Linked DNA regions of Homo sapiens: regions 1 and 2 are each linked to region 3. The links are contacts of gene promoters, found by promoter capture Hi-C in blood cells and fetal thymus (Javierre and others, 2016). All regions are on one chromosome and are shown on one strand. Each heading gives the region's core, a stretch centred on a gene start or on the middle of the fragment in contact. The rest is flanking DNA. Distances are from core to core; before and after follow the strand shown.

The links. The method cuts DNA at HindIII sites, captures the fragments that hold promoters and counts their contacts. A CHiCAGO score of 5 or more calls a contact.
Region 1: the fragment with the promoter of IWS1 here is called in contact with a fragment that was not itself captured in region 3 in 1 of 17 cell types (fetal thymus); the score reaches 5.6 in fetal thymus.
Region 2: the fragment with the promoter of ERCC3 here is called in contact with a fragment that was not itself captured in region 3 in 1 of 17 cell types (fetal thymus); the score reaches 8.1 in fetal thymus.

What each region holds. Positions count from the first base shown.
Region 1 is chr2:127,524,955-127,528,102 of GRCh38, reverse strand. It overlaps IWS1 (interacts with SUPT6H, CTD assembly factor 1), which reads left to right and starts at 1,614. Exons shown (of 14, transcript NM_017969.3): 1 at 1,614-1,928. The coding sequence starts at 1,895. RefSeq lists enhancers at 1,015-1,084, 1,325-1,374, 1,635-1,694, 2,225-2,284, 2,295-2,374 and 1 more and silencers at 1,120-1,293, 1,935-2,044. The HindIII fragment of the contact is 4,097 bases long and covers 1-2,128 here.
Region 2 is chr2:127,292,744-127,295,617 of GRCh38, reverse strand. ERCC3 (ERCC excision repair 3, TFIIH core complex helicase subunit) reads left to right here and starts at 1,474. Exons shown (of 15, transcript NM_000122.2): 1 at 1,474-1,564; 2 at 1,900-2,105; 3 at 2,772-2,874. The coding sequence starts at 1,537. The HindIII fragment of the contact is 2,323 bases long and covers 127-2,449 here.
Region 3 is chr2:129,873,742-129,876,495 of GRCh38, reverse strand. All of the region lies in intron 1 of LINC02572 (long intergenic non-protein coding RNA 2572), which reads left to right. Among named protein-coding and RNA genes, the nearest start is that of LINC02572, 2.4 kb to the left of the region's middle. The HindIII fragment of the contact is 4,386 bases long and covers 1-2,754 here.

The DNA of each region.
Region 1 (3,148 bases), core at 365-2,864, 2.3 Mb after region 3:
CAACCACTTTCCTGACTGTTGGACTTACATCTCTGGTGAAACTAAAAGGTTCTCTTCCACTGAACCTCCGCCTGGAATTTTGATCTATTAATCCTGCTCCATTTACACAGGTGTACTCTCACCTTCTCTTTAGAAGAGGGCTTAGAGCCTTGATATCTTCTATCAAGTGATTCGGTTTCGGGCATTGCTAATTCTTTGTTCTTTTGATTCTCAAGACTGCCTGAGAAGATGTCATTCCCACAGCTGAAAAGAAGGAATTTGGATTCAATGCTGTTTCCACCACTTCGGAAAGGAATATCCATGAACTCTCTTGCAGGAAAATGGGAATTTCCAGAGAGAAACCACTTCTCCCCTTTCTTCTCTTCCCACGTCCTCTTCAGGAGCCTATAATTGGGCTCTGCCAGCATACTCTGACTGGCTAACGAAGGGTCAGATATCTGCAGTAGTAACAAAAGGCTCTTTTTCTACATGTCTACACCTCCTGGGGAGTCTTTGCTTAAACCTCTACTGGCCCTCCTCCGATCCAAAGGCAAGAATGTTCCCCTCTCTGTCCAAGACTAAAATGAACAAGTAAGGAAATGGATTTTACTCAGCCTATTGCAATAGGGAGAGCACTCCAGATATGATCAGTGTCTTGGCAGCGTAGTTTTGACTTTTATAGGGAGGAAGGTGGGATGATTGACAGTTGGGATTGTTTTGCAATCAGGAGAAGTTTCAGTCAGGTGAACAGGAAATGTTCTCTGTGTCTAACAAGTTGGGGGGAGGAGAGTTCTAATCTCAACTAATCACTCGATATCATCAGCGGGAATTTGGAAGGTCTGTTTGGCTTTATTAACAGGCTCAGAATAAAGGGGAAAGGTCTCTGGCCTTGTCACAGGCAAACAAGGGGGTCATCTGCACGCGTTTTATCTGAGTCACATGGAGACGGGTGGTTCTTTACAGTGTGCCGTTCCAGAAACACAAATAGATGAGGGGGTTTCTTAATCACCGCTGTTTTCCAGGAACACAGGGCTCAGGTAAAGTTCAACTTCACCTTCCTCCGGTGTTTCATCAGGGGAACCCTTCTGGAAGCAAAGACGTGTACTTCTTACTGTTGGCTAAATGGCTTCTTAACAAGGAAATTAAATCGTTGTTTAGAATGAAAGAGAGGAAGACGCCGGGAGAGGAGGCGCTGTGGATCGCGCCAGTTAGTAACGCATCACAGCTCGCGGGCGTCATACTACAAGTCCCAGTGAGCAACGCCCGCTTTCTTGCCTACTGCGGGCGGGAACCAGGCGCCTCTGGGCCTGACGGGAAAGACAGTGGTTTGGCTGAATGACGGAAAAGTCATTTGAGCAGGTCTTCATTTTTCGGAAGAGTATCTCAAAAGCTCTTCAAACAAGGCACGGACACAGAATCTAGGAAATGATAAAGAATCAATGATAACGTTATTACCACGGGGGTCAGACCAGGATCCACCCGAGGAAGGTATTTAACTAAAGCCCGAGTTCCAGCTCAATTTTCCCAGGAGTCTCCTTTCCGGCCGTGCCTGGCGTCATTGCTGTTGCGTCTTCTCATTGGCCGGTTGACGGGTTGCGGCGCCTGCGCGCTGCATTCCTTTGAGGGTCGTGGGCAGACGCCATTTTGGCCCCAGCGGTGCTTCTAGGAAGTAGAACGCCGGCTCGCATGCCTGCCCGCCCGCCAGCCTGCCGGGTACGGCCTTTTCCGCCGGGGCTTCCAGGTCAAAGAATTCGCCTTTGCCGCTACCGCTTTCTTACCCTCCGCACCCGTTAAGTTCTCCGGTCGGGCGGCAGTCTCTGAACACTTAGCCGCGCCATCCGGGGTCACACCGCCTGGAAGGAGGTGACGGGGGCGGCGCGGGGCGCGGACACTCCCCGCTGAGAGTCCGCCTGCCATGGACTCGGAATATTACAGCGGCGACCAGTCAGGTGGGGCAGGGACCTGGGGGACCGGGCTGGGAGGCGGAGCAGTTACTCGGCGGGGCTTGGCCTGGCACCCCGCGGGTGGGGGCAAGGAGGCCCCCCGAAACCTTCCCTCCCGCGACCCGGCCCGAGGAGGGCAAGAGCCCTCTGACCAGCTGCAAGCGTCGAAGCTAGAACGTTGGAGAGGGGATTCTGGTGGGAAAGCTTTCTTCTGAATCGGCGAAGGTTTTTGCTGAAATTGGGAAGTCACTTTCATATGTTAAGCTCCTATTGTGTGCAGGGAAGGAGAGGTGTCTTCTGTTAAGAGAGTTTTCAGTAGTTGAGTAGTTGGAGAATCCAAGGGGCGTTGGGGCGGGGGATCCTTCCTAGACTTTTCACTGCTAGTTAGGAGTGGTTTAATCTTGCTTGCAACACCGGACGTAAGTGCAGGACCCATGTTTCAGTTGCATGCATAGAGTAAGGAATGCGCTTCTGGCACTTACTGGTGGTTTTTGTGCCTTTCCTCCACCTTGAGATCGTTCCTCTTCCTCCTCACCGAAGTTTGGTCTCCTTTCTTTACTGTTTGTTTATTCTGTAAGCTGTTACTGGGGCCCACTCTGCTGGCACGGTGCTTGGCACCTGAGATTAAGGATAAGTGAGGCAGAACCTGGTGTGGGAAACACGTCGCATTTGCTTTCCCTTTGTGTGCTAGTCCTGTTGGGGCGTTCTGTTACAAAAGTTCTTAAATACACCATAAATAAATACACCCTCTATGTACCCACAAAAATTGAAAATTAAAAAGAAAACTTGAGTGCTTAAATAATTGTTTAAGCGTTAAGCCCTTTACTGTTTTGAGTTCATTGCTTTTCCTTACGTAGGACAGTGAATTCTAATGACTGCAAAGCGTTTTCCAGGCATGCACTGCTTAAAAACACTTTCCTAAGCCAGGTGCGGTGGATTATGCCTGTAATCCCAGCACTTTGGGAGGCGTAGGCGGCCGATGGCTTGAGCCCAGGAGTTCGAGACCAGCCTGGGCAACATAGTGAGACCAACACCACCCCCACCCCCCATGCCCGTACCCCACCCCCCTACGCCCCTACCCCACCCCCCTACTTCGTCTCTACAAAAAAATGCAAAAATTAGCCGAGTGTGGTGGCATACACCTGTAGTCCCAGTTACTCAGGAGGCTGAAGTGGGAGGATCCTTTGAGCCCTGAGCCCGGGAGGCAGAGGTTGCAGTGAGCGGAA
Region 2 (2,874 bases), core at 225-2,724, 2.6 Mb after region 3:
CCTGACCTTATGATCCCCTGCCTCGGCCTCCCAAAGTGCTGGGATTACAGGCGTGAGCCACCGCGCCTGGCCCAGGCCTCACTTTGAACCATCATGTAGAAATTTCCTCAGCAAAATGTCCAAGCTTATCACTTATAAGTTCTACTTTCCACCCAACAGAATACAATTCAGGCAAGCTCTCTACCACTTGCCTCCAGTTTCAATAACATATTTCTCCTTTCCATCTGAGCCGTCACCAGAATCACCTTTAATGCCCATACTTCTACCAAGGCTCTTCAAGACAATAGAGGCTTTTCTATCATGCGCCTCAAAATTCTTTCAGCCTCTACCGATTACCCAATTTGAAAACCACTTCCCCATTGTTAGGTATTTGTTACAGCAGTACCCTATTCCCCGTACCAAAAATCTGTGTTACGTTCTCCAGAGAAACAGAACCAAGAGGCCCACTGAGCAAGCGAGATTGATTGATTGATTTTAAAGAATTGGCTCATGCAATTGTGGGGGTTGGCAAGTTGGGAATTCAGGTACGAGTTGATGTTGTAGTTTTGAGTCCAAAGGCTGGAAACTCAGTCAGAACTTTCTGTGTTGCAGTCTGGAGGCAGAATTCCTTTTTCCTTGAGAAACCTGTCTTTGCTCTTAAGGCCTTCAACTGATTTGGATGAGGCCCACCCGCATTATTGAGGGTAATCTGCTTTATTTAGGCTGAGACATGAGAATGGCATGAACCCGGGAGGCGGAGCTTGCAGTGAGCTGAAATCGCGCCACTGCATTCCAGCCTGGGCGACAGGGCGAGACTCCGTCTCAAAAAAAAAAAAAAAAAAAAGAAAAAAATTTTTTTTGAGACGAACTCTCGGCCTGTCGCCCAGGCTGTAGTGCAGTGGTGCAATCTCAGCTCAGTGCAGCCTTTACCTTCTGGGTTCAAGAGATTCTCCCATCTCAGCCTCCCAAGTAGCTTAGACTACAGGCGTGTGCCACCATGCCTGGCTACTTTTTTTTGTATTTTTCGCAGAGATGGGGTTTCACCATGTTGGCCAGGCTGGCCTCGAACTCCTGACCTCAAGTGATCCACCCACCTCAGCCTCCCAAAGTGCTGGAATTACAGGCGTGAGCCACCGTGCTCAGCCAAATTTTTTTTAATTAAAAAAAAGAATTCTTCCTTACCCATGGACTCAGGTCACATTCTCTCTCTCTCTCTCTCACACACACATTTATTGCCCACATGGCTTCATTAAAATTTAAGTTCCAGAAGGATGAGGCCTTTAATTCGCGCACTACACAGGTGCTCAACACACAGTATTTTCCTTCAGTTGTAGAGAAATGAACAGTGGAGGACCCCCGCCGCTGGGTCGCACGAGCTAACAGATCGGCGGTCGCTGGCTCTCCGCTCTTCCAGCCACCCACATCACGGCGCCTAGAGGCGGGACATCCTGTGTGGACAACAGGGAGCTTCCGGATTGAGCCGGAAGTCCCCCCAGAGCGGATGCCGCGGCGGGCCTGTGGGAGCGGGGTCATCTTCTCTCTGCTGCTGTAGCTGCCATGGGCAAAAGAGACCGAGCGGACCGCGGTGAGACGTTGCGCGGGCACGCTCAGCCACGACTGCCCTTGCCGGCCCTGCCCCCCGCTCTGCCTCGGAGCTGCTCCGGGCCTCTGCGCCGGCCGACCCTGCTGGCCCTCCCGCGCGCACCCCGTTGGGACAGGCCTTTGGGCGGGAGAGATGCTGGACCTGGGCGCAGCCCAGCGAACTCGGCCTAGGGGAGACGGGTGAGGGGCGCAACGCCTGCGGGATGCAGGTGGCTCTTAGCTAGGAGTTTGCGGCGGCGCAGGTGAAATGCTGCCAAGCGGTGCGGAGGGAACCCTGAAGGCTCCTGCTGGGCTTACTTCTGTGTTGGTATCTTGCAGACAAGAAGAAATCCAGGAAGCGGCACTATGAGGATGAAGAGGATGATGAAGAGGACGCCCCGGGGAACGACCCTCAGGAAGCGGTTCCCTCGGCGGCGGGGAAGCAGGTGGATGAGTCAGGCACCAAAGTGGATGAATATGGAGCCAAGGACTACAGGCTGCAAATGCCGCTGAAGGACGACCACACCTCCAGGCCCCTCTGGGTGGTAAGCATGCCCTTAGCTTGGGCAGGGCCCAGGAGTGTGCGGAGCGGCAGCTAAATCTTGGGCATCCTCAGAGTCAAAACTGACATTCAGGATACTGCCCCTAGAACTGGCCGGGAGAGAATTTTCATCCACACACGTTGGAACAGCCCAAGGCAACAGCGAGCAGTTGCGCACACGTGTGGCGGCCGGACCTGGGCTTCCAACAGCTCTAACCCCTCGGTTTACTCTCACTCCTTCCCCAGCCCTACCCCATGTAGTGAATCCTTTTATCTGCCGAATAAATAGCATTTATCATGTAACAGTTTGTTTCCTCAAATAATGGAAGACATGTTCGGTAGCAAGCTTTTGCTCTACTTTAAATAATTAATGTTATACATTTAGTTGAAATCTAGCCAAAAGGTAACTTGAGGATAGCCAGTAAGATGGGCTTTCTCTGTGCAGAATAGTAGGAAACAGCTGTTGACTTTGGAAACACTTTCTTCTATTTTTCTTTACTCTTCTGTATCTGATTAATGTAACAGGCCCCACAGTTGTCTGAAGGAGTGCTTGCAAGAATATCTGTGGTGTTGGGCAGCTTATTCTTTCTTGATAATGATATGGGCAAGAGCCCAGTAGTCTCTGCAACTCATGTTTCCTTGTCTGTTTTGTCCATTTGGTATCTCTCAGGCTCCCGATGGCCATATCTTCTTGGAAGCCTTCTCTCCAGTTTACAAATATGCCCAAGACTTCTTGGTGGCTATTGCAGAGCCAGTGTGCCGACCAACCCATG
Region 3 (2,754 bases), core at 174-2,673:
CTACCATAGCTGTGTAGACACTTGCTGACTACCTGAATGCATTCAGGTTTTTTCTAAATAATAGAATTATCTAATCATTCTCTATTTTTTGAATTGGCATGTTCCTTTGGGTGTTGGTTTCCTTTCTGCCCCCACAAGTTTGGTGACAAGGATGGGACACCTTGAGTGAGCCTTTCCACTGGGCAAATTGGAGGATGTGTAGCCATCTTCGGTCAGACAAGAGGCCTTGTTTGCTGAAGTCTTTCTTAAACACATTGACTCATTAAGTCTATCATTTGATTGACCCTACTGTCGTAGCTTACACCAAAGAAAAATTATGGTCATGTGTAAAGCTATATCCTCTCCCTAGCTCAAATACGGGGAATTGAACCTGTAATTAGAGAACTAGAAAGAGAATCATAAAGAAAGGACATTTGCCTTGTAATAGTCTTCCTATATTACCTATGAAAAAGGAAGGGAAACTGACAAAGAAGTTTAGCTTGCTTACATATTTTTACAAAATCTGATAGAAATATATTTTTGGTATGTCTGACAGTTGTAGTACTCAACCTCTTAGCCTCCTATTGTGTGACCTAACTAATTTTAGTAATAGACTTATGTTGAGCTTTCTTTTCTATACCTTCAGCAGAGGAACCAAGGTATCTCTTTGTGTTTACCTATGAAGGCTTTCCATATTGGTGGCAATGCATCCCCCAGGGATTCAGAGATTTGCCAACTATAATCTCTAGGCATTTACAAAAGAACTTAAAGAAACTTCCCCCACCTCAGGAGTCCATATATGGATATATATGGATGATTTATTGATAGGTAACACCTCATGTGCTAACAAGATATATTAGGCCAGACATGGTGACTCATGCCTGCAAAACCAGCACTTTGGGAGGCTGAGGTGGGCAGATTGCTTGAGCTTAGAGTTCGAGACCAGCTTGGGCAACATGGTGAAACCCTATCTCTACAAAAACTTATAAAAATGAGCCAGGCCTGGTGGTGGGTGCCTGTAGTCCCAGTTACTTGAGAGGCTGAGGTGGGAGGATCACTTGAGCCTGGGAGGTGGAGGTTACAGTGAGCCGAGCTCGCACCACTGCACTCTAGTATGGGTGACAGAGTGAGACCCTGTCCCCAAAACAAAAACAAGATATATTAGCTTTACGAAAATTCTAGCTTCTAAAGGGCATAAAGCTCCTTTAGATAATTTCCAACATCGTTAGACCGAGGTCAAGTATTTGGAATATTTGTTATTGGCTGATGGATGGGAAATAGTTCTGTCCCCAAAGCCACCTCTTTTACAAATGAAGCAATAGCTCCATGTAGCAACAGCTCTGTCACTGCGAAGAAATAGCTCCACCCTTTTGAGGTTGGTGTGCATCGCAGGCAACGGGTCCCTGTCTCTTCTGAGAGGCAAGCCACTCATGGTGGTGCTACATGAAGCATCGCTAGGTGCATTTTTGCAATAGCTAGGAGAAGCTAAAAAAGCCTTCAGATCCTTAAGTAGCCATTGTTTTCCTGCCTGTACTTGGAGTCAGTTCCTAGCTGGTCATCTCTTCTCCCTTTTCTGTAAGGAGAGCAAGGGTGCTGTTAGTGATGGGTATGCTTCCTCAAACACTAGCCTTTGGTTGGCTTTCATGTACCACTGGATTCTGTTGCTCCAGGGATGCCAGGCTGTTTAGAAGTCATTCCAACATTGGGTCTCTGCTTGGGAAGGTGCAGGCCTTGGCTCGGGGATGTAATTGTTTGGGCCTTGTGCTGTTGCTGCTGCTTTGTTTTTTTTGTTTTTGTTTTTTTTTGTGTGTTTTTTTTTGTTTTTTTGTGTGTGTGTTTTTTTGTTTTTTTTTTTGAGACAGAGTCTAACTGTTGCCCAGGCTGGAGTACAATGGCGCTTACTGCAACCTCCACCTCCCGGGTTCAAGCGATTCTTCTGCCTTAGCCTCCCAAGCTAGGATTACAGGTGTGCACCATCATGCCCGGCTAATTTTTGTATTTGTAGTAGAGACAGGGTTTCACCACGTTGGTCAGGCTGGTCTTGAACTCCTGACCTCAAGTGATCCACCCACCTTGGCCTCCCAAAGTGCTGGGATTACAGGTGTGAGCCACCACACCTGGCCTGTTGCTGCTGCTTTTTGAAGTTCCTATGACACAGCACTTGTCAGTGCTCTGTAAGCGTTACTGGCTGACCCTAGTGGGATTCTAGGAAGGTGTGAACTTTGAGCCCAGTGACTCTGTTGCCAGATCCTGACTGGACAGCAGCACAACCACCTCGCAGCCCTCAATGAAGATGCATGGCCTCCATCTGATTCATCATATAGTCTTATTCCCATGTTAACTTAATAGCATTCATTGATGGGTCTTATGTGAGAGACACAGGAGGAGACAGAAAAGCACCCAATATAGAAGTCAGTTCTCATGGGATTCTAGAGGCTTGCATTCCCCCCACACATAAAGTCAGCCCAAGCAATGGAACTCAGCTTTTATGTGAGCTGTAACAGTCACCACTGGTCTTAATATGTGTATCTATACCAGTAGTAAATGTGCGTTTGGGGTCTGTCATGCTGTGGGACAAATTAAAAAATAGAGGCTTTGCAATACGAATGGGAATGACAGCGTCATGGGGAAAGTAACTGCCCCTTTCTGTAGTTCATACCAGCTCTGTGGAGGCCCTGGTGGGAGGATGTGGGGAGCTTCATTAGCTGTTTTGTAGTTGCCACTCAAGTCATTTATCAGCATCCAAGCCTGGGGATTAGTGAGGCTGAATGTAGG